Linked DNA regions of Homo sapiens: all the other regions are linked to region 1. The links are contacts of gene promoters, found by promoter capture Hi-C in blood cells and fetal thymus (Javierre and others, 2016). All regions are on one chromosome and are shown on one strand. The core of a region is centred on a gene start or on the middle of the fragment in contact, and the rest is flanking DNA. Distances in the headings are between cores, read along the strand shown. Region 1 holds the start of CEP192 (centrosomal protein 192). Region 2 overlaps RNMT (RNA guanine-7 methyltransferase). Region 3 overlaps LDLRAD4 (low density lipoprotein receptor class A domain containing 4). Region 4 overlaps LDLRAD4 (low density lipoprotein receptor class A domain containing 4).

Region 1 (7,678 bases), core at 2,745-5,244:
GTGGTGGCTCACGCCTGTAATCCCAGCACTTTGGGAGGCCGAGGCGGGCGGATCACGAGGTCAGGAGATCAAGACCATCCTGGCTAACACGGTGAAACCCCGTCTCTACTAAAATACAAAAAAAAAATTAGCCGGGCGAGGTGGCGGGCGCCTGTAGTCCCAGCTACTCAGGAGGCTGAGGCAGGAGAATGGCGTGAATCCGGGAGGCAGAGCTTGCAGGGAGCCGAGATCGCGCCACTGTACTCCAGCCTGGGCGACAGAGCGAGACTCCGTCTCAAAAAAAAAAAAAAAAAAAAAAAAAATTCCTCCCATGTTAGGATGGAGGAGGCAGGAAACAACCTGCCCTGATTTTTCATTTGCATGTCCTGCCACCACCTTCTCACCTTCCCTTCATGGCCAGGCATCTCAGAAGAATACTCCATAATCCATACTTTCACAACTCATCTGACATCCTCTTCCTTTATTTGCTCCTCATATGTTAGGGTTACCCAGGATTCTGACCTCAGACTTTGCATCATGCAATTTACTTCTTACACACTAGGGATCTCAACTCAAATGTCTTCAGGAACAACTATTGTTAGAAAACAGAATTATAAGGACTGAGGTCAGCTGGAAATTACAGGCTTTACCTAAAACTAGTTAAATTCAATACACTGTTGTCAAACAAAACACATCTACTGGTGTAGTCCATTCCTGAGGGCAAAACATGTCTATGTTCCAAACACACCCTGAAATAGTCTATATCTTCCTATCTCCATTACTACCACCTTACCCTACTGAAAAGCCTCCTCACCCTTTTCCATGTTTTTATTCTTGCCACCCTACAATTAATTATCCAAGAAGCAAGCAAAAAGACCATTAACTATGAATCAAGTGCCATGCCTCTCCTGAAAACTCTATGAGGCCTGTCACTCTCTCCCACCCTCTCAGGCTCATTCACCACATACTAGATTTTCTATTCTTGTAATACCCCCAAAGCCCACCCCTACCACAGGTCTAGAATATTCTTCTCCCAGATCTTTGCCTAGCTAGCTCCTTCCTGACGTTCACCTCAATTTATATGTTACCTTCTAAGAGAAGTTTATCTCTTATTATTAAGTCAAACAGCGCCACAGTCAATCACATCCATTTAAATTTCTTCAGCATTTATCACTATTTATTCTTGTATTTATCTGTCTTCTTCCAATGAAATAATTTCTCCCTAAGAGCAGGGGCCTTGCCTATCTGTCCATCACTATTTCCTTAACACTTAGAACAATGCCTAGCACACAGCAGGTACTCAGTAAGTATCTGTGAAACGAATGAATGACAACATTCTCAGTCAGTGGGTAAACTCTACTTTAACTTTAACCCCTATAAATTTAGAAGAGCAGCTTCTTGGGGAAATGTCTATCTTGTTCATCCACATATTCCCAATACCTGACAGAGAACTGGAAATACAAATTGAAAAAACGAGTTTTAAGAAAGAATCTATAACCCCTAGTTTGCTGATACTGTGTCTATTATTAGGTAATGTGCTAATTATTTCACATACATTTTTCTAATCCCCATGTCAAATTTGTAAGGTAGCCATCATCCCTATTATTGAGGAAACTGAGGCTGAAAGAGAGAATTAAGAGACGTTTCCAGTCCACATAGCACAAATGAGGCCAGAGGATTCCCACCTAGGCAAGTCTGGCCCCAGGGTATTCTTTCCTCTGCACTAATTCCACCTCCTGGTGGTGCATGCCTTGGAGTCCCAGCTACTCAGGAGGCCACGGTGGAAGGACAGCATGAGCCCAAAAGTTTGAGGCTGCAGTGAGCTATGACCATGCATGTGAATAGCCACTGCAATCCAGCCTAGGCAACAAAGTGAGACCCTGTCTTAAATAAATATACAGGAGCATATGCATCAGTTATATGTAAATACTACACCAATCTATGTAAGGAACTTGAGCATCCAGAGGATTCTGGCATCCTGGGGCAAGGGCAGGTCCTGGAACCAATCCCATGGATAACCTGAGGGAACGACCATACTTCCAAATGGCTCTCTGACATCTACCTTACCCCCGAATGCAATACAAAATACAAAACCAAACTTGTTACCTTTCCTCCATTCATTCCCGCCGTTATCTTTAGTCTTCACCCAAATCCATCCCTATTAACTGGCAATACAAGCCTGACACCTAGGACCATCCTGATCCCTCCTGCTCTCTCACCAAATTCTAATGCTTCTAACGTCAAATACACTTCTGGAGCTGAGACCCACTTCTATATTCCTAATGCCCGTTGCCCATCACTTTTTATTCTGAACTATCACACGAGTCTCCCAACTAGCCTCCCCAAGTCTAGCCTTGTAATTACTAAGTTATTCATTCATATACAGACATGTAAACTATTAAAATTTATAGAAAACTCTTCAACAGTTGTCCCTATTTAGAAGGGCCTAATCCAAAGAAAACTCAGAAATTATGCAAAGGTCATTCATGCAACATTCATTATCAAACACAAACCATGAAGAACCCTCTACTTGGCACCAAGAATGCAAAGATAAATAAGGCAGCTCCCCTCAGGGAGCTGACAATCCCTGTCAACTACGATAGTGTTAAGTGCTTCAACAGAGCTTTGCTAAGGGTGCAAAGGTAACAAAACCCACGGGAAGATTCCTCAAGATGTAACCTAATACCTAGTCTCTTCTCCAGAAAAGATTACACTTGTAAACCATTCATGGACATAACACATTCCTAAAGGAAATTTCCTTTAATTTCTCACATTATTGCATTACCCACCCCTCCTCCATCATCTCAAGTGAAGACAATATTTTTCTTCTATCCTATTTGAACTGAGTGGCTATATTTGCAATTTCTCTTGCTATTTCCTTAAAGTAGTGACCTCAAATTTCACATCTGGACTCACTAATTACATTCCTAGGTACATAAAAGATTACTGACTATAGTCATTAATCGTAGGTCTATGTATACAATTAAACACATTTAAAAGCACACGCCGTGGAACCCAAAGCCGAGTCAAACTTCCCCAAAACTCATCATTTACTCTTGGCACTTTAAGATATACTTTAAAACTAGGTAGGCATTTGGTATATTATTGTTCAAGGCTTGCCGTTTTTGCCTAGAAAACTGAAATTTGGAGAAAAAGTTGATTTTGGAGCAGTAAAAACGCCAGTCGAATGACCTCAAAATAGTAAGAGCAAATGGAAATATGGTCATATAAACAGCTGTTCTCCAAACGACTGACTTGAAGAGGTCCTCATGTTTTACTAAACAAACTCTGAAAGTAACAGCAAAGTAAAAGTAGAGTGTATTAACATTCGTCTCATTTCACGTTCTGTTGATAATGAAATCATAGGCAAGGAATGTAGGTAAACTATTAGGAATAAATGAACGCAACCTAGCAGAAACCAAATCAAGTGAGTAAACGGAAGACAAGGGCATTAAGTTAAGTTAACAAGGTTACTTCCTGGGTCAGAATTTTAAACAAAAAGGAGGAACAGAACCGCCCATCACAGGGCACATAAAGGAAACATCACCGGTCACTTCACAAGCACACTGCAAGAAACTCCAGAGGGTAGCACGGAGAGGGCCTGTCCCTCAAGAGGTGGAAGTCCCCAGACAAGAGGGGAGGAAAGAAGGACGTGATCCCCTAACAGTCTGTCTCATCACGCCCGGCCAAAGCCCGATGACACAGAGGCGTGCAATTAATCCCAACCAGGCGGAGCTCAGCTCAGAGGCTGCGCCAGGCGCAGAGGCGCGGGAAGCGCGGCAGTCCCCTTGCTCGCGCCCTGAGGCCGCCCCACAGCCTGCGCCCCCACCCGGCCCAACCGTCACTGTCCCGTCGGTCCGGCAGCCGAAACGTAGGCCAAAGGTGCATGCGTCTGCCTCCCGCCTAGGCGCAGGCCGAGGCACCAGCGTCCCCCCTCACCGAGCCCGCGTCCCCGACTTCGGAGGGCAGTGTGCAGCGGGAAAGTCCACGGACTGAAGAGGTGTCCCAGGGCACTGCAAGTGCGCGTGCGCGTGGCCCCCGCACCGGCTGGAGCCCGGAACGGCCGTACCGCGCCCGCCTCTGGTTTACGTCTGTTCGCGGCACCAGGCAAGGGGAGGAGACTGAGCTGGCTTTTGATTGGACAGCGGGAAGACATGGGGCGGGAAGAAGCCCGGTGATTGGTGGGGACAGCGCGTTCCTGGATTTGAAGCGAGGAAGCCGCGCGCCCTGCGAGTCCGGAGGAGGAAATGGAGCTCTGCGCTGCGTGGGACCCGGGGGACGGCTCCCGTTGGCGCCGCCTTCAAGGTCTTGGCGAATTTGAAAATAATGCTTACTTTATTCAGTTTGGGTCTCCAGGGCACCGCCAGTCACTCTATGCGCAAAGAAGTATCCCCCGCCAACAAATCCCCCCCGATAGGTTTCGTCCTTCCGTGGGCAGATGCAGACCTTTCCTGTTGGTAGGCGCTGAAAGGCGTCAGGTTTCACCTTCAATCAGCTAATTCCTCGGGATCCAAGTTTCATGACATTTCGCCACATCTAGTCGCCTCTTTGTGACAGAGTAGGCTTTGTCTCGATTGCTTCCTACTTTTCTCCATCCTTCTTAGGCCACAAAACCCATCACCGCCATCTGCTCGGCACAGGCCCTTAACTACTTCACTGAGACCATGCCTTTCACTCAAAATGTATCTCAGTCTTTTTCAGTAAGGTCCCTTATCTCAAAATTTATTCCATATAGTCACAGAGGGAAAAGAGTCCCTCTTTTCCAAAGCTAACTCCTTAACTTCGTTCAAGTTACTGAAAGATGTCCGGCGCACCTTGGAGGAAAGAAGAGGGAAAACGCAAAGTTTAGAAGTCCCTAGACCTGAGGTTACTTGGTGGGGAAAGACGTCTGTTTACTTGACCACTTTCTACCTCCTGCAAACATGGCTCACCTGTCATTCTTGGATATCCTCTCCACTGGTTTCCTTCTCTCTGCCTACAAAAATGCAGCACCTCTCTACCCAAACACACACACCACACACCCATACACCACACACACCACTCACACCACAAACCACACACACCCACATATGCACCACACACACGTGTGTGACACGTATACACACATCCATACACAACACACACCCACATACACATCACCCACACACCACACACACCCTCCACACACAAACACCACTCAAACCACACACCCACACACACCCCTTCCTTGATTCTGTTTCATCACCTAATGACCATTCTTGTTTCCTTCCCTTAATGGTCTCCACTTTTTTTTCCATAGAGGAAGCCAGGCTTCCACTTTTTACACCTTATTTTGACGCATTTCATGGTGTCTAGCTGGGTCCTTAAAACTTTATCAGGAATAGACTCCTAATTGTCAAACTCAGTGATATCTCCACAGTTCGACACCTCTTCTTGGAACCCTGCAGCCTTGGTATTTGCAAAGAGTAATTACCTTTATTCTACCTTTGTCCACACTCAGTGAGCAAAGATAAATGCAGAAAATCTCAAGATTTTCTGAATCCCAAAAAAGTAAGCCAAATGCTCAGCCCTAGAGCTGACCTCTCTTAACCTCTTTTTCTACAAAGCGGTCACACATTGGAGGTGAACTGCTTAAATGTGTCTACAGGTTCCGGACTGTCACTCACACCAGATCCTTGTTAATAAATGTCCTTCCTCCATAAATATCCTCAAGTCACCACAGCACTCCCCACAACACTCAGTAACCTGATAGGACTCTATTAACAGAGATCTCTGATTCAGAGTCTCGGCAGCAGGAGAGCCTGGACTCTGACGCCAGGCTGCCTGGATCTGAATCCTGGCTCTACCTCCCTCTTCCAAACTGTGTAGCCTTGGGCAAGTAGCTTTAACCAGCCGGTTTCCTTGTCTGTAAAGTGGGGATAATTAAAGCGCTTGCCTCAGAGGCTTACTGTGAGGATTTAAAGCTACTTCTGTAAGGTATCTAGAAAAATAATGGCCCATGGAAATACTCAACAAACATTAGCTATTATCTTATACCTCAGTATCTCACCTCACTTGCCAACTGGAAAGGAGGAACAGAACTCCCACTGTGATTTCCAAATCTCTTTAGACACTGAGTAGAGCCTGCAGAGGCCCCATGACCAGGGTGCCTCCCAGGGAATTAGAAGTGAGGCCTATCCAGTTTTAAGTTCAGACATCTCTCAGCTCCCCTTTTACCAACTGCTTAAAGTGGTATGCCTCAGCCAATACTCAAAACCTTCTACAATGTAACCACAAGGTATGATTTCAGGTTAATGTCCCAGTAGTTCCCTAAATGAACCCTACTCTTTCATCAGACTGTTACTTATATCCTATTCCGTAAACACACCCCGGCCCTCTTTTACCTATTGAAATCAGACATCCCTTCCAAATTCTGCCAGCTCAAATAACTTGTCTCTTTTATGCCTACTATACAATTTCTACCATTATTACAAAGCTGAACCCATTACCTTTTGTAAATTCTAAAAATGCCTTCTCCCACGAGTGTAAGTTTGTGTGCAGACTACCTATTTTTCTACATACCCCAGTGTTTGGCACAGTATCTTGCACATGGTAGATGCTCAGGATTCACTAAATTAAACTGGAGAATGGTCTCAATTTCATTATTCCATTCTTACCCAAGGTACCTCTATGTCTGAAAGCTCAAAGACATGGCTTCTTAATTCTGGGTTAGATTCAGCATTAAGACTTCTTGTTTGATCCTCCATAAGGCTACAAGCCTAGCAAGTCATTTAACCAGAGGAAGACCTTTGAGAATTATTTGAAAAAGATATTTACATTGAAATGCTAACTTTAGAGACAAAACACTTTGATTATTAGACAATAAAACTCAAATGTTCCTTAAACTAAAATGAATAGGCTAGGTGAGGTGACTCATGCCTGTAATCCCAGCACTTTGGGAGGCCAAGGTGGGATGATGGATTGAGCCTAGGAGTTTGAGACCAGCCTGGGCAAAAAGTGAGACCCCTCACTAAAAAAAAATTTTAAAAAAATAGCCAGGGCATGGTGGCGTGCACCAGCAGTCCCAGCTACTCAAGAGACTGAGGTGGGGGGATCGCTTGAGCCCGGAAGTTCAAGGCTGCAGTGAGCCATGATCATGCCACTACACTCTAGCCTGGGCAACAGGGTGAGACACTGTCTTAAAAAATAAAAAATAAAATAAAATGAACAGAATCTTTCTATCAGCTCTTAATCCTTTGCATATTAAGAAGTACTAGAGCTATGACACTATTCAAGGAAAGGCGTCTTTGAAAATTAGAATAGTTATAATAACTATGTCACCTATGTGATTACCTGATATTTCATGTAATCTGTTACATGAAATACTGTTCAAAACACCTCTCTCTCTAGCCCTGATAAGAGGTTAAACCCTTGACAATTCCTGACAAAACTGAACCAACAAGCATATTACTAGTTTTAATCATTTTACCACAATTATAATCAAGTACATTCTCATTTTAAAATATTCTAGAAAATATTCTAATGTTGACTAATTAGACTGAAAGTCAACATCTGTCCATTCTAAATGTTAGTAGTCTACATACTGACTTTCTACCTTTTAAATAAATGTAATATTTGCTCACATCTCCTAATTTTTGTTTGGGTTTTTTGTGAGATAGTGAAAGAAGAGTAAGCCTTGGCAATTATCTTAAATAAAATACATTCTGTTTTTATAAGGCAA
Region 2 (7,678 bases), core at 1,306-3,805, 750 kb before region 1:
GGTAACAGGTCATATCCCCAAGTGCAGTACTGGGAGAGAAGGAAGACTGCTGAAGAACTGTGAAGGCCATTAGCACTACTTCCTCAAACATCTCCTGTGCACTCTGGTTTCTCTGCCTGTCCTCTACCAATCTTCTTCCTTCCCAAAAGGCCCTTTATATACTCACTGCACTTGGAATGCTTCAATACTGCAGTTCCCATCATGGACTGCATTATTCACTGAAATAACATGCCATAAAATTCTTGTTATCCCATACCCTACCATACCTAAGTAGATTTTGACATACATTACACAAGTGAATTCACTACCCATATGCTAAGAGAAAGGCTAAATAATTGACCACTATCATGCAAAGCACCATCAAATAAAGGCAATATGCTAAAGATATGCTGTATATGTGGGACAGGGGGACTTATCCACACATAGTTTTGCTAGTTTTCTCCTCTTCCTTAAGACAAACAAAACAAGCATCCATTCCTAATATAAAGCCAATAAAAACATTCTTAGATCTAAAGTATAGGAAATATAACTAATGAGGAATATGAAATTTTACTGATTATGTCTCTTAAAAGACAATTTAGAATTTATAAAAAGTCCTCCCACTCAACATTGTGGGAGTGGCTGGGTGCAGGTGCAACTTCAACAGGAGACTTCTGTTTGAGTATCATCTACAAAAACTGAAGAAAATCTAAAGGTTAGTATGCCTTGAGCAAGTCATTATCCTCTGAGCCTCAGGCTGCCCACTAAAAAAATGTGAAAACTGGCCAGGTGCAGTGGCTCACACCTGTAATCCCAGTACTTTGGGAGGCCAAGGCGGGAGGATTGCTTGATGAGGCCAGGAGTTTGAGACCAGCCTGCGCAACACAGCAAAACTTCATCAGCACAAAAAGTTTAAAACTGAGACAGGTGTGGTGACACACGCTTGTAGTCAGTTACTCAGGAGGCTCAGGTGGGAGGATCACCTTCCAGAAGGTGAAGGCCTCAGTGAGCTGTGATCACATCACTGCACTCCAGCCTGGGCAACAGAGCGAGATCCTGTCATTAACAACAAAAAAAAAAAAATAGGAAAAAAATTAGTGAAAAGTTACCATTCTGCCTACTTCATGGAGGTAATTATAAGGATAAAGAAGTCAGAGTATGCTTAAAGTACTTAAACTGAATAAACTCTCTAAGGAAGTTTAATGTCCATTTGATGAATATGATTCTACTGATCAATAATAAAAATGCTCACTGAATATTTTAGGTCTGTCCAACCAAACATTGTCTGGTAAGGAGAAAAAGGAAAAACAATCAATGGCTGTGTAATTGAAGCTTATATAGATACCTTCACTGCTGCATTAGGACAGGAGAGGTCTCAGCAACAACACAGTCTAAAAGACTGGAACCCTGCTAAAGAATTACCATGCAATAAAATTATGTATGGTTTGAGCTTGTCTGGACACTGGCCAGGAAGGTTCTAAATTACTGTCGTAACCAAAAGGCACTGTTGTAAAGAACTGGTTCTCAACTTGGGGCAATTTTGTCCACCAGGGGACATTTGGCAATGTCTGGAGAGAGTTTTCTGGTTATCGTAACTGGGGACAAGAGTGTTACTGGAAGGCATCTAGTGCGTAGAAGCCAGGAATGCTACTGAATATCCTACAATGCACAGCATCCCACAGCAAGGCATTATCCAGAACAAAATGTCAACAGTCCTGAGGCTGAGAAATCCTATTTTAAAGCAGTACTATCCTAGAAAACAGAATTTGGTAACACCAGTACTCATTCTTTCATCAAGTATTTACTGAGCACTCACCATGCAGTTTCTGTATCAAGCTCCGTCCTAGGTGCTGAAGAGCGTAATACACATAACTATTTCATGTTCAGATGGCCTTGCAAGGATCTCAAGAACAGCCAAACAAGTTCACCATGACTGAAATTTGTACATCTTTTCTAAATACTCACCTCCAAGGCCTGCATTCGTTTTAAGAGCATTTTATTTTCATTGTTCTTAATCTTTTCTTCGTAGAATTCCAGAAATGTTTTTTTGTAGACTAGTTTCATATTGTACTTCTTTGCCATTCTGTCCAAAAAAGAATACTTAATGAAAAAGCTTCCACATGTTTGTAATTCCTCAACTTACTTTTGTACAGCAATGACATCTTCTGGACTTAACTAAAAAAGCTACCACTCCCTTGATAAATTCACAATACAGTAATACAAAATGAATCAAGAGTAACATATCACACCTAAAAGAAACATGCATTCTAAATCTCAGGGGTTTCAGAGGGCTCTATTAGTATAACATAAAGGTCAGGAAGTAAATGAGAGTCTCCGGAGCTGTGAGATGCGGAAAAAGTGTAGGAAACTCTTTTCTACTGATTCCATTTCACTTTACTTGATCTCTCACAGCTGCACTGCAAACAGCTGCCAACTTCCTTCTTAAAGATTCACTTTCATCTCGACTTCTCTGGCAAGATACACTATTAATTTTTCCCCTACATCATGAACTGCTTCTTTGCAGGTTTTTTTTTTTTCCTTTTCACTTACAGGTTTTTTTTTACCCAACTTCTAAACTTCAAGGTTCTGTAGAGTACAGTCCAGAGCCCTACTCACTTCCACCCCCCAGCTATCGGTAGTTCAGCTGTCTCTCATCACTCATGGATTCTACTGCTTATTAGAAATCTTCACCTGCATGTGTCACTGGCACTCTCTAACGTCCCACATCTAAGGCTGAACATCACTGCTCTTTTACTGCCAATCTTTGCCATTTCAGTAAATCCACCTAGTGATCCATGCCATCTCCCCTTCTCTTTTACCCACTGTGCTCAATACACATCACTAAGTCCTTTCTATTTTACCTAGAAAACATCAATTTCAAATAGGTCCACTTCTTACCTCCTGCATTTGGCACCATCCTGCTGCTTCAGTCACCATCACCACTCAGTGGCACCAGTCCATAAACTCACTTTGCTTGTCCCCTGCTTCCATTCTTACTCTCCCTCAATGAATTTTCCAATCGCAGCCAGATTAAGCTTTCAGAAATGCGGACCTGAGTCATGTCACTACCCCCTTAACACCCTCCACTGGGCTCCAGTGCACTTAGGATACAGAACATGGTCTCGAAGACATTCATCTGTAAAGGAATGCTGCCTCATTTTGGGACAGCCCCCGATATAAATCAGGATGGGCCTTCTTTCAACATCTTGGACTAGCCTAGCTTTCCCACTGCTGGGCCCTCACACACGCTGTCCTCTTGTCAGGAGCATTCTTCCCTCCAGTCCTCAGCTGCCCACCTACTTTTCCATCCTTTAGATCCTGACTCAAACATCGATTCTTTACAGGCACCTTCCTTAAATCTTAATTATATTAGGTCTCTCCGTTAGACTCTCAGGTAGTTTTTTTCCTCACTGCATTTGCCAAGTTTATAATCATGTATCTGTAGACAACAAGAGGGAGCCTGGAGATGACTTCAGGCAGCAGTTAAAGGAAGAGTGGAAGGAAGGGGAGAAACCCTGAAAATTAGGTGGGAAGGCTCGTGTACAGGGTGGCATTTGAGGGGATAGGGTAAGGGCAAACACTGGAGGGCCACTGAGGTTTCTATGTAAGAGGTATACGTAAGGCAGGATTCTGTTACTTCAATTAATCCTCCTTGGAAAGGCAACATGAGCAAAATTAAGTCTTTTATTCCAGGCAGTTCATTTTCTTTTGTAAATCTCTAAAATAAGCCTTTAGAAATGAAACCAAGTTTTTTATTCCAGGCAGTTCATTTTCTTTTGTAAATCTCTAAAATAAGCCTTTAGAAATGAAACCAAGTTTTTTATTCCAGGCAGTTCATTTTCGTTTGTAAATCTCTAAAATAACCCTTTAGAAATGAAACCAAGTTTTACACCTAAAAAAATCATGATTCAAAGAATTGAGGCCCAATTTGAATAAGTTTTGCCACACAAAAAGCTTATTTCTGTTAAATTTCTTAATGAAATGGCAAAAAGGCATCTCAAAACCCCCACACATTTTCAGATTCTATTTCATCCAATACTGTTTCAATAAATAATCTTTTAAAAAATTAGATATTAAACTGATGACTTAGGTTTACCATCATTAGGCAATTTAAGTCAAAAAAAAAAAAAAAAAAAAAAAAAAGAAGACCGCTAGGTCTTGTTTAGCATTTAAAACAAATCTTTTGTTTTATTATCTTTTTGATTATACTAAAATCACCAAACTGTTAACTAAAATCTCAAGCTAACATATTAAACATACTCAATAACATTCCACAATTAAGTTCTTTTTTAAATAAAGTTGAAGAGCAGTAACATTTCCCCAGTTTATTAGTTTTAAAAATTAAAAGGAAAATGTAATTGATATTTTTAAATTTTGTAAATGGTTTATATTTATAAAATTATGCACAGTATTTTCCTCATGTTCAGTCACAATGCTACTTGGCTTTCTTATATTATTGAATAAGCTATTATAGAACTCCTGAAAATACTGTAACCCTAATTTTACAGACTGACTGAGTTACAATTAAAATAAGCACCAAGCAGAAGTAAGCAGACAATATACCTCTTCTTTTTCTCAGTTAATATTCAAAACAAAAGATTTTTGTTTCTAAAAAGTAGAAAATCAAGTTCAATCAATCATGACATGGCCTACATTTAAGCTGACTTTTATACTCTCCCCACCGGGGAAACTCTGGAAACCAAGGTGTATCACAAGGCCTTGAAGCCTTACCTGGTAAGGCCCAGTTACCCCCAGCTTTTCCTGTGTCTACAGTTTGCCAGGACTCCTAGGAATTCAGGCACATGGGAGAATACATTCCTGAATCAGGATTTTATCATCAACATTGCCTGTGAGACATAGGCAATTTCAAAGTTATAGTGAAATGCAAACAACTTTTAATACTCATCTCTGTCAAAAGGAGGATCTTTGATTTATTTATTTATTTATTTATTTATTTATTTATTTATTTATTTTTTTTTTGAGACGGAGTTTCGCTCTGTCGCCCAGGCTGGAGCGCAGTGGCGCGATCTCGACTCACTGCAAGCTCCGCCTCCCGGGTTCATGCCATTCTCCTGCCTCAGCCTCCCGAGTAGCTGGGACTACAGGCGCGCGCCACCATGCCCAGCTAATTTTTGTATTTTTAGTAGAGACGGGGTTTCACCGTGTCAGCCAGGATGGTCTCGATCTCCTGACCTCATGATCCGCCCGTCTCGGCCTCCCAAAGTGCTGGGATTACAGGCGTGAGCCACCGCGCCCGGCCGGATCTTTGATTTATGAAGACTCATTGTTTATCATCAAAGTTACCAGTAGTCACTAAAAAAAAAAAAAAAACTTTTGCTATTTGCAGTGTCAGGCATTTTGTGCCACAAGCTGAAGGCAACTGGTTCCCTTTTTCACCCACAGGATTAAAAAATTCCAGGAATGAGAGAAAACTAAGTTAGGCTATTATGAGACCTATGGCAATAATCCCCTAGATGTGAAGCTAGTCTTGTTTTGTTTTTTTTTTTTAAAAACACAAAAACAAAAAAACAAGATTATACTTTTTCTTTAGCCCTCATTTAAAATAAAGAGTAAAATAAATATTGCTTTTCCCCGCTTTTCTTTCCCTTAAGACAAAAAGAAAAGAGTGAACAGATTAATGACTTCTTACTCATTTAGCAATGGAAAATAGACCAAGAATTCAGGAACATCCACAACACCTTCCAAGTTGAAGTCATATTTGCAGCCAAATAAAGGATAATCTCCTTTCTTCTGAAATTTCACAGTATATATTTCATTTCCAAATGATTCTGTTTCTGAAGCTTCAAGGCGTCTTCTATCAAGGTTATCCCCCAACCAAAATAAAAAGATTAAAATTGTGATTAGTGTAGACTTATTTTGATCAGATTATGCATGTGAAAAACTACATGATGCACACTTGATTAGCCTTTTAATTATATCTGGGCTACCTTTTTTTTTTTTTTTTAAAGTGACAAGGTCTTAATCTGTCATTCAGGCTGGAGTGTGGTGGTGTGATCATAGCTCACTACAGCCACCAACTCCTGGGCTCAAGTGATCCTCCTGCCTCAGCCTCCTGAGCAAGGACTACAGGGGCGTGCCACCATGCTGGCTAATTTGTAAATTTTTTGTAAAGACAAGGTCTCACTATGTTGTCCAGGCTGGTCTCAAACTCCTGGCCTCAAGCAATCCTCCTGCCTTGGCCTCCCAAAGTGCTAGGATTATAGGCATGAGCCACTGCACTCTCCTGATTTGAGCTACTTTTAAGAAGCAATATACTAAAAGATCACCAACAGTCACACCAATAAAATTAAGCTGGAAGTAGGTATCACTCTCATGACAGCTGGTTCATCTCTGTGCCTGTGTATCTGACCTGCAGTTTGTCTATCACTATAACTTCAGTCTCTAACTTACACACAAAGATGAACTGTTAAAAGTTCACCTGTAAATTTGTCTATTGAATTTAAATTTTGAATGTCTACTCAAATATCTTATGAAAGTGTTCAACACTTATAAGATTAAAATAGCGTATTTTAATAAAATCTACCTCTGATAAACATTTGCTACTTAATACTGAATATTTTATAAACCACAATATATTTAGAAGTACTTACATCAATTCAAAGCTATTGGGAGTAGTACCAATAAAATAGCCCCCAGGGCTAAGTCTCTCACACGCATTTCTCAGCATCATGTCAGCCTGCTCATAAGACTCAAATGAGTAATGACAGACAAACTGACAACTGCAGATGTCAAAACACATTTGTGGGTCACGAAATTTGTCAATCAGAAGTTCCTGAAACAAATTAAAATGAGTTAAGATTGTGAGGTAACTACAACAAAGATTAAAAACTTTTTAGTAAATTAACTTCTAGAATGTAAGGTTCTTCCTTTCCCTCACAATCTTTCCCTTGTACAATAAAGGACACACAGAAATCATGCATGTATTCTAGTTTAACAGAATAATTTGATTCCCACTTTCACAGTATTTAAAAACTGAGGAATTCTGAAATCATGTTTAAAATATATTAGTCAATTATGACATTTCAACTTGATCCTTTCATCACTTTACTTGACAGCTAAAATAAAATGACATTCAACAATAACTTGAGTTAAAAAACATCTGGCGTTTGGCATTTTTTAAAAAATGCAAAAATGTTTTAAAGGTATTACAACTTTCTGGCAGTATACTCCCACTTATCTTTTTCACTTTCAAATTTCAAACAAAATGTGTATGATTAAAGGTATCTATAACAGTTCAGTGAGTCAATAAGTCAATGAAGAACAAAAAGTTCATGGTGAGACTTTCACCCTTGAAGCAGTTCTTTTTAAGAAATTCAGAAACAGGTGGAAGGTAGGAAAAAACCAAACAGGCTCTGATATGTTGGGAAACTAATAAATTACAAGGTGAACAAAACATAGTATAAGTTCAGTTCTATTTCAAAATACTGGAAAATAAATGATGTCCATACCGAAAAGCAACAGCTAATTTCAATTCAAATTATTAAAAGCAAAAAATTACAAGTATTCAGTGAGTCATTCAAGGGAATTTATCATAATAGAATTTCCAGTCAAAAGTGAAAATGCATATTCCAAGATTTTTAAAGTTTCAAAACACATTTTAAAAAATGAGTAGCCGGGCACCATGGCTCATGCCTGTAATCCCAGCACTATGGGAGGCAGGCAGATCACCTGGGCTCAG
Region 3 (7,678 bases), core at 3,747-6,246, 650 kb before region 1:
AAGAGATCAAACGGAGATACGCAGAAGTTCAAGAAGTCCTCGCCTGGGTACAAAATTCCTCTGCTGGTGTCAGGAGGCCTCCCCCATTTACTGTTGGCCCCTATTTCCTGCCTCATAAGTTTGAGCCAAAATTAGTGAATGGAAATGCAGTCCTCACGATAAATCTTTTAAAAATTCGCTTCTGCTCTCTTGGGATTTCTTGTGGCTTGGGTGTGTGTCCATGTGTTTATGTGGTGGGGAGGGTGAGGACATGCTTGTCAAGCTTCTGTATTAGTAAATTTTGGACACTAAAAATAGAAGAACTATTGAAATACATAATTTGCTTCATGAAATCTCTTTTCCATTAAGGATTGCGTCAGTATTTAAAGAGAATGCTAGAGTTTCTGAAAAAGCAAACGTATGCTGGAAGATTGTGTTCTTATAGATGGGATTCAAGATGCCTTGGGTCTCCTACACCGGGAACAAGGGACAAAAGTCAGCGGTATGCCCAGGAGTGTTCATTCCCACCAAATGTTCTTCCTAACAATGCAATCCACACTTTGCTGGAATAATCTAAGATTATAAACCTATCATTGATTGCCTAAATCACTCGTTACTAAACTGGACCCATGGGTTCTATAAGCTAAAAAAAGGGTTCTTGAAAGAACAATAGGCCCCACTGTGTAAGTTGTATCTTCCCAGTCGCTACTCTTTCAACGCCACACTAGCCATGAGGCGACACGGTATGAACAGGTCAGCCACAACCTTCAAAAGAGCTACTGATCTAAATCACCTTTTCCTTCTGCTGAAGGGAAATTGACCATCAATTCATGTTATGACCTTGGCTTTTAAACTAATTCATTACAGAGCCCCAGCCTCGAAGACCTTTCAAAGTCATGGTTTGATATGTATGAGTCTTTAAATAACTATTTAACAAAGGCAGTTCTCTAGGGTGGTTGAATGGGAGGAGCCTCTTTCTTGAAAGATGATTAAAGGTATCTGAATTATGTAATTATCTCGCCAATACTGTGGACATGTGCAACACATTCATATACTCACAGTTACTAAGGAATTCACAAGTCTCTGCTCTGAGCCCCTTCTTGAGGCAGGTAGAGAAGTAAGGACTGTGAAGCCATTTGAGAGCTAGAGCTGTGGGGTGCATCTCCTGCTTCACCAAAACTGCAGGTGAGAACTGAAATGATGGAATCACTCACCTCGCCTCCGCATCTGTGGGCACACCTGACCAAGAATCCACTGCAAGTCCCTGCCAGCAGGGCCCGATGGGAACACGGGCTCCTCATCTTTGCCTGACAGAGGAAGAGAGGCTAATCTGGAGAGCCAGTGAACCTTCAGGGTGTCTCCAGGGTTGGGGAGGGTCCTTCTGGCCCCAAGCCAATCTCTGCCCTGAGAGCTGGTGTCTCTCCAGCAGAGGCCTTCCAACTGTCACTGGAACAAGACTGAATCCAGTCTCAGAACCTCCACTGTGACTCTCAACTGTATATACTTCCACACAGGTTGTAAGCATGAGCTGACAACTGGTGCCTGTGTTTTTCCTCTCTCCTTTTAAGAGTTGGACTAGTTCTGTGGATGTTACTGTGTGCAAAGGATGAATGTAATGGAAATTCCAATCCTCAAAACAAACAAACAAAAACCAGTGACCTATCTACAGAGGTAAGAAGCAGAAGGGAACAGACTAGGATCAGACAACTCTTGGGGTTTGGAACAGTCTCTCCAGTTACAGCACAGAGCCACCGCACCGACGGATCACCTTCGAGACCCACAGACAGACACAAACACACACACGCGGATTTGGCTTTAAGGCTGCATAGGTGGGAGTCATGGAATCATCATTCCAGCTCATCTTGTTATGTGAAGAGGCCACAGAGGCCCACCCTCCACATGGCAGAGTGTACTGCAGATAAGCCCTTCTCCACGCGCAGTGTCTGCTAAACGTGTTGGCTGCTGCTCTTATAAAAGCCAGTGCTTACATCTGCAGAAGAAAGTTATTTTTTTCATTGTATATAAGAATGAATATTTGTAAATATCAGGAATATTAAAACTAACAATATTTAAAATTAGTTTTCTAGTTGCATTTTAACTGCATGTTGTGCTTTTTACCCGGTGCTCTTCAGTCACTTGCCCCCTCCACTGTTCTCTGACTGTCCAGTTCTTGCCTTCAGTACAAAAGCTGGCCTGGGGAAGGGTTTGGTAGAATCCTGCGGGAATTTGGGTAGGTTTTGAGCACTGCATTCCTTTAAGAATGCTATGCTAATACTAGTGACATACAATAACCCACAATGGCTTATTACCACGATCAGCAACATGGCATTCTTCCGTCATTATTTCTAGGGGCTTCCAAAGCATAAGAAACCACCACCCACACCACTCCCACACGAAGTTCTGTGTAGGCTGGATGTGGGGTGGCTGCTGGGAGCCTCCTGTGAACTGAGCAGCCCTGCAGAACTGAACTAAGCTGTCGAGGAAAGGGGGAGAGGCAATGGGAATATACTGAGGAGTCACATATTTCAACAGTATGCAGAATAACCACCTTGCATTTTAAACAATTTATTGCATAAAATAAGGTATGTATTTGAATATATTTCATGCTATAGTGAAAAAAATCTAAATTACTGAAGAAATTGCACTGCTGGAGGATGAGGGCAGCACTGCATGATACTGGATCCATAAATGCATGTGTTCATTTTCTCATAAACTATGCAGCCTAAGAGTAGCAGAGTAACTCAAAATAACAAGTCAGAAATGCTGGAACTTAATCTTCCCTATCTTATCTTCCATCCAAAAGTCTCCAAAAGCTTCAGCGATGCACTGCTATTTGATGCAAACTCCTGCAACAATAATGACTTTTTTGATTTACGTAAGTTGGTAAAATGTTAGGCTACGTCCCCAAATATCTTTTCTTGGATGCTTCTGGGGACCACTCCAGGATATTCCTTGGGCCTGATTACAATCCACAGGTGAAAAGACAACATACAGAACTTCACGTAAAACAGTTCCCTTGTAAATATTTTCAACATTAAGATAGTGCAACTTTTAAAACACATCATCACAACACAAAGGAGCTCCTTGCACTCATCTAACTTCTCCACTTTATACCTTGGCACACAACACAGGAATTTTGATTCATATTTTTAAAACAAAATAAAAGTTCCACACCTTAGGAGAAAAAGCGAACTGGCTGGTTCTTCCCCACAATAATATATAATAATGCTTCCTTCTTTATTCAGTTAATTATAAAACATGCCATTCTGGCCTCATTTATCTGCAAAGTCTCCTTTCACAATTAAATACATCAAATACCTCTGTGGGTTTTATTTCATGGTATCTTCAAAGCATCCCGTTCTCTGTTTTCCCCTGCCCACACCCCCATCCCAACCCCTGTCCCCAAATAAACACTGTTTGCGGTCAGACCAGATGGAAGTTTGTATCATTTCAGTCTAGTTTGCATGCAATTCCCCTAAAAGGAATCAGAAACAAAGACCGTGTTTGCTCATTTGGTTTTACTTATTTGTACCATGTGAAACTGAACAACACTGTGCGCAGGAGGGGCCCAGCGGCCGCTTCCCTTCTTGGTTTCTTTCTCCAGCTGAAGTGCACGTTGGAAGGAATCAGACCAGGTTCCCAGGCTTCCTATCTTTGCCTTTGATGGGTACTATTGTGCTCTCTGCATTGTTCTGCTGAAACTGCAGTCTGCTGCCCCTGTGTGCGTTGCTGCGCTGGTGATGGAGGAAAGAGGCGCCTGGGTGGTGGCCCATCACCTCGCTGTATGTGGGGGGTGGCCCCTCCATCCTCCCGTTACTGCTGCAGGTGCTTGCACTGATGCCCGAGTTGCTGCTGGGTGGGCATGGACCCCCGCTATACATAGCAATGTCTATTAAATCACTGTCAAATATGGTTCGGTTGGGTGGGGCCCTCACGGACTCTCGGTTGAGTTCCATCTGCTGTTCAGGGTCCCGGAGCTGCAGGGTGCAGGGCCCCTGGTAAGGAGGTGGCTCTTCACCGTCGGACAGGGAGATGGTGGGAGGAAGATCAATCTCGTGCTGCACATAGGGGTAGGTGGGCTGGAAGCGGCTGAAGCGATCCCTCTGGATGAAGGACGGCGCTGTGAACCTGTCCCTGGACCGCGGGGCATGCATGATCTGGAAGGAAAAGAGGAGAGGCTTGAAGACAGTTTGAGCGCAATGATGACCATAAATGTGTCAGAATCAAGGAAAGTTACGCTTGGTGTGTGTTCCTACCAGTTTGAACACCATCTCCCAGGAAAAAAAAAAAGAAAACAGGAAAATCCAATTCCAGAAAAAAAAGTGTACTTTTCTGATTCCTTATGACAGACCACTCACCTTGCCAAATCCCAGCGCATCCAGGAGGGCTGAGCAATGGAGAGCTGTGGGTAATGGAAAGCTTGGGCTCCTGGGAGTTTCTGTGCGTGCTACGTGTGCATTTTCCCCTTGGAAACAGAACACACTAGGAACTCCAAGAGTCACAGGGCGAAGAGCACTGCGGCCTGCACTTGGATCTGGTCACCAGTGACATCGTCCAGTCCTCGGCTTCTCTATAACTTACGAGGACAGGACAGGGCTGCCTGCTTTCTCAGGTCCCTGCCAGCTCTAGAACTTAGAACCTATGGTTCAGAAAAGTAAGGAGGGGCTCCGAGTTTTTATTTTTATTTAATTTTTTATCTTAATTTTTTTTTTTTTTGAGACAGGGTCTGGCTCTGTCACCTAGGCTGGAGTGCAGTGGCGCCATCTTGGCTTATTGCAACCTTAACCTTCTGGGCTCAAGTGATTCTCCCACCTCAACCTCCTGAGTAGCTGAGACTACAGGTGCACACCACCATGCCTAGCTTTTTTTTTTTTTTTTTTTTTGAGATGGGGTTTTGTCATGTTGCATAGGCTTGTCTTGAACTCCTGAGCTTAAGTGACCCACCCACCTCAGCTTCCTAAAGTGCTAGGATTACAGTCATGAGCTACTGCGCCGGCCAGAACTCTGAGTAAGCAGAAGTTATAACTTCACACAGTGGTACGTGGAGCAGATACAAAGCATTGGGTCGATTTATTAATTACTTAGAGAAGATCATTGCCAATTACTTTTTAACAAATTCCCCCCAAAATGACTGTTTTTTCTTTGTGGCTCCTAGACTTTTCCAGTTATCTGGAATCTGAATAAAAGTTTCCTGTAGTTATTTTTAGTCACTGACATGAAAAATATTTTTTACTCAAATAAATATGATTATAATAATTTATTTTTTCAAAATGAATCCAGGTAGTACATTTCTTACAAAATCTTCTCATTTGTTCTACCATCCCAGTTTCTTCTAGGAGACGGCTCTTTTATATACGTACATACACACACACACGCATATATGCATAGATGTGTATGTGTGTATACATATATGTGTATATACATGCATTTAATATACACACATATCTACACACGTACATACAGATATTGATTTCTCTCACACCAATATTTTTAACTTAAAGGCAAAAACATGTTATTTTAAAATCCACATTATTACACTTGGAGATGTGGGAATGAATCATGCTATGATATTTATAAACCATGCCCACTTGCCAAGGCACATTAGTAGAAGCTTACGGGATCATGTAAAGATAAGTGATTCTCAAATTGTTTTTGATAAGGAGCTTTAGACTAGCAGGAATAATCCCTGGAAGATTCTAGGGGAAGTCCCCTCCCGCTTTTGACCAAAGTTCTAGGCAATGCCTTCCTCCAAAAGTGTCAGCCCACGTGGTGAGGCCCCTCCCCTTCCACCCCACGTGGCAGGGACACGCCCCCTTCATCCCCACCCACCCCCCCCGCCCCCCGCAGCCATCACCTCCTGGGGCCCCTTACCTCCGAGGCGCCCAGCCGCGGTGCGGCGCTGTCTGAAGGCCACAGGCACCCTTCCTGGCGGAGGGGAAGGGGAGGAGAGTGGGGGGAACAAGAAACAGAGGAAAATCATTAGCCCCGCCGCACCTAAAAACATGAAGCACAACTTCTGGAAACGGGGATCTGCATAAAACGTGGAGCGAGGCCGGGCGCCATGGCTCAAGCCTGTAATCCCAGCACTTTGGGAGGCAGAGGCGGATGGATCACGAGGTCAGGAGTTCGAGACCAGCCTGGCCAACATGGTGAAACCCCGTCTCTACTAAAAATACAAACATTAGTTGGGCGTGGTGGCGGGTGCCTGTAATCCCAGCTACTCGGGAGGGTGAGGCAGGAGAATCGCTTAAACCTGGGACGCGGAGGTTGCAGTGAGCCGAGATCTTGCCACTGCACTCCAGCCTGGGCGACAGAGTGAGACTCCGTATCAAAAAAACAGAAGAAAAAAAAAAAACAAAAAATAGATAAACAAACAAACAAACAAACAAAAAACGTGGAGCGAGAAAGAGCCCGTCCCTTTTCAGACCTCTTGTCTACATGGAGGGCTGTGAACAAAAGGAAACATGGAAAAGTTGAACTCCTGGCCAGATTAGATTTGAAGTGGAATATGGCTCACTCTCTACACCTGTGTGCTTGAAATACATTCAAGATGACTGTCCAACCGCATTCAGTGGCCGCCCGATGAGGGCAGGCTGGGTTGAGGAAGCCCTGGCAGAGGTGGCCCGGGGCCCGCCCGTGCCCTGCCCGGCCTCCAGCAGAGGCGCAAGTCCGCGCTCGCAGGTGGACGGCCCTTTCCGAGCCTGGGCTCAGGATCCTCCAGCGAGTGTCTTCTCCAGTCCACCTATTCACAGGGCAGATGCAACTTCACATCTGGTGAGTTAGCATCCTTTTTCAAAAACGTTTGGCCAGATTGACAAGGTGACAGGCCAGCCACAGGCCTCAGTAAAGGTTCTTTCCAAGGCCCCACGCGTGCTGGGAAAAAAAGTACGCGTGGTACCCTTTTCAGCCCAGAGTGTGGCTGTCAGCAGGGTCCGCGGGGCTGTCGGCCGTCACGGGAGAGCGCGAACTCAGCGTGTAGGGGCCCGCGTTTGGGGAATTCTCGGAAACGGGCGGGCTGGGCCATCACTGAGCCTCCGACGGCCCCGGCGCCAGCAGCGAGGGACGGCGCGGAAGAAACACCGAGCCCCGCGTTTGTCCAACACGGCCCTTTCCTAAGATACTCGGGGACATCCTGGAATCAGTGGCAAACGTATACGGCGGTCCAGCTGCTCGGAGACGAAGGGTGGGCTCAGGGACCGCCTGTGACGGGAGGGAAGGGCCCGGCCTGGCAGGCACAGACGAGGGCGGGGGTCCGGCGCCAGCGGGGCGGAAGCGGGAAGGGGGCGGAGGCCCTCCCACCGCCCAGGGCCCAGGCTGGGCCCGCAGGGGCGCTCCTCGCTCCGGGAGCCCAGTCAGCCGTAGCCAGGAACGCCGCCAGGTCCATCTGCGGGGCACTCAGAGGGGCTGAGCGGTTCCTGAAAACGTAGTGACTGTCCCCAGTGGCCTTATTTCCCGAAAAACCAGCAAACCCGGCCAAGTGCCCACAGGAGCCGCCGTCCAGTCCGGCTGCGCCCCCGAGGCCCGGCCCTCGGCTGACCCAGCGCCCCGCTCCCCTTGCCGCACCCCACGCCGACTGGCGGCCCCGCCAGCCCGGACAGGAAACCGCCAGAGGCGCGCCTGCTGCTCCTCTGGGCCGCCGCCTCTCTCCCTCACCCCAGTCCTCGGGCCCCGCATTTCCCTCGCCCGCCACAGGCCCCGG
Region 4 (7,678 bases), core at 1,406-3,905, 640 kb before region 1:
ATGGATTTTGGCTGGTACCAAAAATCAAATCTATCCCCAAGAGCAAAACTATTTGCTCTTTGCAAAGGAAGATTTGCCATTGTGGAGAAGCTTTTAAAAAATTTCCCTTGATTAAAAAAACAAACAAACAAATAAAAACAACCCAGTCAGGTGCAGTGGCTCAGGCCTGTAATCCTAGCACTTTGGGAGGCTGAAGTGGGAAGATCGTTTGAGGCAAGGAGTTCAAGACCAGCCTGGGCAACACAGTGAGATCTTGTCTCTACAAAAAATTTAAAAATTAGCCAGGCATGGTTGCGCGTGCCTATAGTCACAGCTACGCAGGAGGCTGAGGCAGGGGGATCAGTTGAGCCTAAATGTTCGAGGCTGCAGTGAGTTATGATCATGCCACTATACTCCAGCCTGCGCAACAAAGTGAGATCTTGTCACTTAAAAATAACCCCAAAACCTGAAGGTAATTCCCAAACATTCTGAGCAGTGCCAACATCAGTAGAAGGACTATTTGAGACACTGTCACTTTAAAGATAAGCATTGACTCTTCCAAAGCTCTGCCCACTGTGGTTCAGGTGGGAATCTGCGTGCAGCTGGGGTCCAGCATCCTTATGCAGTTTCTGCCGGGCCGCTTGGCCTCCTGTTTCCCTTAATTGAAGGGAGATGTTCTCATTTTGAGGTGATGTGAAATTGTCTATCCTCTAATGCTTCAATTAGACATAGCAAAGGGCAAAACCTTTCAAATGACCACCTGGGCAGCCTGATAATTGGAAGTCCTTGCTCACTCAGACAGACATGCTGCGGCCAACCCGCCGGACCCTAAGCTCTTGGAAATGCAGTTTCCGTGAAATGCAGTAACGGAGAGCTGTCACTGGACAACCGACAAACACACACATCTGGTCTGTGGTGCAGCAGGGTCTGCCTTGCCTGCAGGGAAACGGTCCCCTGCGGTTCATCCCCACAATGATGCCAGAGGAAGCCTGTGGCTCTTTTCTTTAGTCTGGAGTGTCAGAGGCAGACCGAGTACAACTGCATCAGTAAGCCCTTTAGTCCACTCCTTCAAGCCTTACTGAAAATCATTCCTTTCCATCGTTTTCCACATGCTTTTCTAAACGTATGAGGTGGGCAGGAGTGAGAGCAGCAGGGCACAGCGAGCCAGCGCTCCAGCCGCAGTGGGAATGAACAGTGTGGCGCTGAAACCCCTGCTCCCTGTGCCCTCCGAGGGATCCCAGGACACTGCCTGTGGGTTTCTCAAACACCCCTGAGCCTGGGGCCCACCTCAGAGCCTCTATCTGCAGGGGAGGGTAGAGGGACACTGCCCAGGTAGAGAAAGGCACTCGTCACATATGGCACACCCAGAGGTCCCCTCACTGTGAGTTCTGAGCCCCAGCACAGCGGGCTCCTGGCTGTCAGACACCTGCCCAGGACCGTCTGCCCTCTGGCCACCGCTGCTCCCAAGGCCAGCAGAGAGGCTGCTGGTGCAGGGCCGAGCCTCAGAGAGCGGGGAGCCCATGGCCACCTCTGTCCCTCTGGCTATAAGCTTTAGTCACAGAGGAGGGCCTTGCCTGGGGAGATGACTGGACAGCAGTGGCCACGAGTGACCATGTCAGGCTGGGCACAGGACACGCACAGCACTGTTGACCCAGACACGTGTCTCAACTCCTAACCAGGCAGGAACAGTATTTACTTCCACAAGGACCTTCTCACCCATTTTTCTGGGAACCAGTGGCCCTCTCAGTCTATCTTGGTCTTCAGCCTTGCAATAGAAGCCTGAGTGCAGAAGAAAATTTTCTCTGAAAAACAACCCCCACGTGCAAACCCACAGATGGCAATGCTGCTGCCCGGCACTGAAGGGTCCCCAGCGAGAGACAGGTGACAGCCCGGGCAGCACAGGCCCACTCCATGGCAGCCACCTCACAGCCCCAGCCTCAGGGTGTGGCCCCATAGGCTGCTTTTTCAAGAGAAGATGGAAACTCCAATTTTCATGTGAAATCTCACAATTTTTATTTTTTATTTTTTTATTTTTGAGATGGCGTCTCCCTCTGTCGGCCAGGCTGGAGTGCAATGGCGTGATCTCAGCTCACTGCAACCTCTGCCTCCAGATTCTCTTGCTTCAGCCTCCCAAGTAGCTGGGATTACAGGCACGTGCCACCACACCTGGCTAACTTTTGTATTTTTGAGTAGAGACAAGGTTTCACCATGTTGGCTGGGCTGGTCTCAAACTCCTGACCTCAAGTGATCTGCCCACCTCGGCCTCCCAAAGTGCTGAGATTATAGGCGTGAGCCACCGCACCCAGCCCCAATTTTTAAAAGCTAGATCAACTTAGGTTCGAACACCCTGTGGGGCAAACCAGGTACACAGCCATGCTCTAGGCTAACTCTGTGGCTTCTGCAGAGAGGGACTTGTGGGGAGAGCTCACCCCATGTCAGGGCACTGTGGATCTGAGGAGCATGAGTTTCTGCATCAAGAGGGCTGACAGCCACCAAGTGCTTGTCCTCCTCCGCAACAGCCAGGGCCCCTCCCAGTGTCAACCCCAGGGAGCTGGAGGAGCCCAGCTGTGCTGGGTGGGGCCTGGCTGCTCCTCCTGGCTATGAAGAATGGGCACCTGGATTTTCACAATCGATTTAATCCCTGTAGGAGTTGATAATGAAGAGATGTGTGATGTGATTCCTTTTGTTAATTTTTTAAATTGAAATTGCTGTTTCTATAGGTCAAAATGGCTGAATGTTAACAATTTCATATGCTTCAATCTGGGTAAAGGTCCCTGTCCCTCTCCTGCCTCTCCCTCCATCCGCTGATGGCCAGACCCTTCTGCCTGCATGCCATCCCCTACCCCTGGGCTGTCCACACAGGCCAGGCTGGACCCTCTGGGCCAGGCTGCTGGCAGTCAGAAAAGGTCACCTGGGCTCCCTCAGCTCCAGCAAGAAATGTTCCAGCAACTTGTTCAAATAGCTCTCCGGGCTGTGTCTAGAATATTCATGCCCCTTTACTGCTTTCCCATTACTGAATGGTCTAAGATAATGAAAAGAAATCTAGACAGTCTCAATGCTCAGAAGTCACACAAACCAGGCTCCAAAGAAACCAAGCTCAGGCTACCTCAGCAAGAATGCACAAGGATGCAGATCCGGACCCGCCGCTGCTATCTGCTATGATGTAAGCATTTGCTTTGTCTGTGATGTAATTCACACCTGAGTTGCTAGTTTTCATTTTCATCCAGAAATCACTACTTCCACCACATTCAGGCCCAGTAACATCCATTCCTTGGGCCCCCCTGGGACACACAGTGTCTACCGCATGGCGACAAAGGTTGACTGGCTTTGGGACACCCATCACGTTCATGCAGCATGCACTGTCCCAGGCCAAGGGACATGGGAGGAAGGTGCCAGTGTCAGGAGGATGCTGGTAGAGGGGAGGAGGTTGCTGGTGGAGGGAGGAGGGCTCTGGTGGGGGGAGGAGGGCTCTGGCGGGGGGAGGAGGGCGCCGGCTGAGGGGAGGAGGGTGCTGGCGGGGGGAGGAGGGTGGTGGCAGGGGGAGGAGGGCTCTGGTGGGGGGAGGAGGGTGCTGGCAGGGGGAGGAGGCCTCTGGCGGGGGGAGGAGGGCGCCGGCTGCGGCTCCTCACCTGCACCTGCACAGGAGCACACCCTATGGGACAGGGACCAGAACTGGCTGAGCTGGGCACTCCCTCAGGAAGGGGCCAGAGAAGGCAGCGGGGCAGTCACCACTTCTCAGAACGGGACTCTCCGCAAGAAGCAGAGAAGCCAGGGCCACAGTGATGCTGTCTGGTTAAGCTTGGTCTGGCCCTTCCTTGTGGTCAAAGTGGAAAACCTGTAGAGGAGGCGAGGGGCCGCTCATAGCAGGGCGGGAAGCTTCCTCAGCCAAGTAAGGCTGCTGGCCTGCTCATCCTCCTCCTCCAAACCAAAACTCACTCCCATCCTATTGCCCCAAGCTATGTTTCCACCTCCACTCTCCAGGCTTCCAGCAGAAAGACGTAACAGTAAGTTTAATCAGAGTGTGAAGCCTAATCACCTAGAAGTTGGTTAATTCAATGCCCAGCACTTCTCACACCAGGTTTAAATAGAACATCATTTTCTAATGTGCTCATGGAGCCCTGGGGTGGGTCTCTACAAACAGGCCCTCACAGGAGGCTCCCCAACAATGCACAGGCTCCTAATGAGGCTGCGCTCCACAGAGGGGACAGGAGGAGCATCCAACCCCAGCTGCTGACTGGAGGGTGCTGAGCCGCCGCCAGGGCCTGGACTCCCAGGGCCTCGGGTGCTGCAGGAGAAAGGCCTCGGACATTGGTGCTGAGAAAGGAAGAGGTGCTTAGGGGCTTGCAGGGGCCCTGATAACTGGAAAGAAGCCATGAGGATGGCAGCATCTGCCCAGACACACTCATCCTCCCCAGCCGCCTTGCCCTGGAGCACAGGCCTGCACAGCAGCACAGGGAGCCCAGGAGACAGAGGACTGCCAGGCTCTGCCAGGGGGCACAGGGCCCTCCCTGCCATGCTGACCAGCCAGCCGTGCCTTCCCAGCCCCTTCCAAGCCCCTTGGGAGGGGGCTTCCTGACACAGGTGGTCACCTAGGGATGGGGAAGGCGGGGAACTTGGAACTGCCCTCGCCAACTGCACATGGGCCAGGCCAGGCATGGGGACGGAGGAGACACAGGTCCTCATACCTGCCCCAAACACCTCCTACAGCTCCCACGCCTGACACTCCCCCATCCCAAAGGCACAATCGGCCAGCCAGACCCCTAGCCTCCCCTAGGAAGATGGAGAGAATGGCAGCGGGGTCTTGGCCTCCGCCAGGGGACTGCAGGTGCTGCTGGTGGCGGAGGCGGGGCATGGCCACTGTTTCCCCCTCCTACTCAGTGCCTGGCTCCTGCGGAGTGTCCACTGAATGGCTGGATGAGCAGAGGAGGCAGGAGTCACTGGGGAAACTGTTCCCAAGGCAGAGTCCCAGACCAGACCCCAAACTCGTACTGCTGGGAAGAGCTCTCCGCTCTGTGGATGCCTCAGAGCCAGCCTAGAGAGACCCCCTCATGGTAACAGGCAGCCTCTTTTACAGTGAAGTGCCCCTGGGTCCGGCAGTGCTCAGCACCTGGTGGGTCCGGCAGTGCTCAGCACCTGGTGGGGCCGGCTCCTCCGCCTCAGCACCGCTCACATCCACTCAGATGAGTCTTTGTTGCGGGACTGCCTGTGCACTGTAGGACGCACTGTACAGATGAGTCTTTGTTGCAGGGCCGCCCGCGTACTGTAGGACACATTGTAGGATTCCCCCTTATGATGCCAGACACTGCAAATGTCCCCTAGACATTTGGCAGAATCAGCCCTGATCGAGACTCCTGAGCTGAGTGTAAATGAATCAGATCGCTCCCCTAATACTGTATACGGGGAACAGGCATTTCTTAAAAGAAGTTAGAAGTAGGGAATTAGGAGGCAGGAAGCCTGGCTGCGTGGGGGCATTCCTGGGTGGAGAGGACCTGGGTTAGGGGACCCTCAGGGCAGAGAGAGGGAAATGGATAGCATGGCCACACCCATAGTATTAGCAAGGCCTGAGTCTGTGTCCAGGAGAGAATGGAGGTTTCTTCCTCATCAGCTGCCACTCTTTTCTCTTTTGGGGAACCATCAACTGGGCTAATACACCAGATCGGGAAGTGGAGCAAGGGCCTGGGCCGAGCTGCCTCTGGTCATCGTGCTGGAATGCATCTTGTGTTTTATGAAACATCACACAGAGTCCTTTGCTAAGCTACGCTGAAGCCGTAGGAGGAACAGCCACACCTCGAGGAGGGACAGCTCCCAGTTCCAGGTTACTCAGAAAAAAAGGAGAAATAGCTCGGTGCAGCCGGATCTCTGCAAGCCCCAGCTCAGCTCCAGAACGGAGCTCTCAGGGGGAACACTGTATGTGCACATTAACAAAACGAGGCCCAGACAGGGATGTGGACCACTGTGTGGACACAATTCACTGGCTGCCGAATGTCTTCACCTGCCACGCAGTGTGCAGCCCTGAAGGGACCTCTGAACATCGCTCTGTCACCTTCCTGATTTCAGGGAAGGGAGGCTCTGCAGGTGGGGCAGCCAGCGCTTCCCGGGAAAGGGCATCACACAAATCTGCCGCCACATGACACAGAAGACACTTTTTTGACACTTTTTGCTTTTCTGCTGGGCCTCTTGGTTGGTAAGGGTGTGGCCAGTGTGCTGGTGTTCAGGACACAAGGTGCTATGAACAGGGACAGCAAGCGGGGCTGGGTCTGCACCAGGAACAGAGCAAGGAGCTGCCTGACCCACACTAGGGAGAGAGAAGCCAACACCAGGGCAAGTCTGGGAGGAAGACTGGGGAGCGCCCAGGCAGGGGACAGAAAACTCCCTGTGTGCCTGCGCACAGAGACCCCAAGCGTTCTGGAGCTCCTGGAGAGAAGGCCAAGGAAGGCTGTGCTTGTTTCCACCAAGTCCAGGGGTGGCGTTCACAGCCCGTAATACATTAAGGCAAAGCAGCGATGTCTGAGCCTTCTGCGGTTCTGAAACTGCTGCTGTGATGAGATTTTCTCCCTGTCCTCTCTCAAAACACAGGTGAATCCCATACACTGTGTGTTTAGAACTTCAGAAGAATTAGTCCTCCCTCTGTCCAACAATCTACAGGCATCAGGATGCCAAAGTGTTCAGTGCGTCTGGATGGCGCAGCTCTGTGGACACCAGACAAAGGACCCCAGGATGCTGTGGAGGCTCGAGGAAAGTAACACAACAGGGCCAGAGGGGCTTGTGGACTGAACTGGGCATCCAGAGAGAGGACAGAAGGGGCAAGAGAGGATGCAGGGGGCAAGAGGAGGAAACGGCTGTCAAGGGTGCACGTCTTCCCCTGGCATCCCATCTCCTCCCCGAGGCTGCCCCGTCTAGCCCTCACCATGGTCTGAAGATAGCACTCGGTAGCACCCACCCCTTCCTTCTCCCCACTACCTGCAGGAGCTGCAGAGCAGACAGCAAACCTCAGCTCTGCCCATATGGATGGCTGCACCAATGATCCTAGTGAAGTGTGAGCCTGCACTCCTGAGAGGGGTCCCAGGGCCAGCGGCCACCCCAGGAAACCCACCTGGACAGCTGCACCCCATACCCTGGACAGGCTCTGTAAGTCAGGGTGGGAGCCGGAACTGCACAGCCCTGTTCCTGAAGAGGGATGCTCCGTAAGGACCGGCTCCTGTGCTCAGCATACCGCAGGGCTCCACACTGTGGAGACTCGGCCTCGCTGCCCATCACGGAAGCCAAGGATTTATACGCTCGCTGAACTCACCGCTCCTAACCCTCTGGCTGGAAGCCATCAAAACCACAGCCTGTAAAACAGGCTTGGGACAGCAGCCCCTGGTCTCTCAAGTTTGATCATAGTGCAGTTTGGCTTGAGGGTCCACCGCCGACAACCCCACCCTCCACAACCCCACCCTCCACAACCCACCGCCGACAACCCTACCGCCGACAAGCCCACCGCTGACAAGCCCACCGCCAACAACCCCACCGCCGATCCCCAGGAAGCTCCCGAGGCCTTAAGCTCCAGGCGTCCTCCAGCTCATGGCACCCATGTGCTGCCGGCACGTTTAGTGACGATGAGCGCGTGATTTGTCCCCGCAGCACCTCCAGGACCCAGCTCAGGACAGGATTTTACAACACAATGAATCTCACAAGTGCACTGCCAAGCCAGAGGAGC

What was found. The method cuts DNA at HindIII sites, captures the fragments that hold promoters and counts their contacts. A CHiCAGO score of 5 or more calls a contact.
Region 2: a contact is called between a fragment that was not itself captured here and the fragment with the promoter of CEP192 in region 1, in 1 of 17 cell types (naive CD4 T cells). The highest score is 5.4, in naive CD4 T cells.
Region 3: a contact is called between a fragment that was not itself captured here and the fragment with the promoter of CEP192 in region 1, in 3 of 17 cell types (erythroblasts, total B cells and naive B cells). The highest score is 6.1, in erythroblasts.
Region 4: a contact is called between a fragment that was not itself captured here and the fragment with the promoter of CEP192 in region 1, in 1 of 17 cell types (fetal thymus). The highest score is 5.1, in fetal thymus.

What each region holds. Positions count from the first base shown.
Region 1 is chr18:12,987,678-12,995,355 of GRCh38, reverse strand. CEP192 (centrosomal protein 192) reads right to left here and starts at 3,994. Exons shown (of 45, transcript NM_032142.4): 1 at 3,919-3,994. RefSeq lists a silencer at 3,733-3,812 and enhancers at 4,293-4,672, 5,063-5,675. The HindIII fragment of the contact is 8,933 bases long and covers 1-7,678 here.
Region 2 is chr18:13,740,604-13,748,281 of GRCh38, reverse strand. RNMT (RNA guanine-7 methyltransferase) reads right to left here. Exons shown (of 12, transcript NM_003799.3): 7 at 6,591-6,772; 8 at 5,630-5,794; 9 at 1,945-2,062. Among named protein-coding and RNA genes, the nearest start is that of RNMT, 18 kb to the right of the region's middle. The HindIII fragment of the contact is 922 bases long and covers 2,095-3,016 here.
Region 3 is chr18:13,641,585-13,649,262 of GRCh38, reverse strand. LDLRAD4 (low density lipoprotein receptor class A domain containing 4) reads right to left here. Exons shown (of 7, transcript NM_001378100.1): 6 at 5,851-5,904; 7 at 1-4,136. The coding sequence ends at 3,606. Among named protein-coding and RNA genes, the nearest start is that of MIR4526, 34 kb to the right of the region's middle. RefSeq lists an enhancer at 1-205. The HindIII fragment of the contact is 1,192 bases long and covers 4,401-5,592 here.
Region 4 is chr18:13,621,597-13,629,274 of GRCh38, reverse strand. All of the region lies in intron 5 of LDLRAD4 (low density lipoprotein receptor class A domain containing 4), which reads right to left. Among named protein-coding and RNA genes, the nearest start is that of MIR4526, 14 kb to the right of the region's middle. RefSeq lists enhancers at 2,660-3,160, 5,566-6,065. The HindIII fragment of the contact is 2,249 bases long and covers 1,531-3,779 here.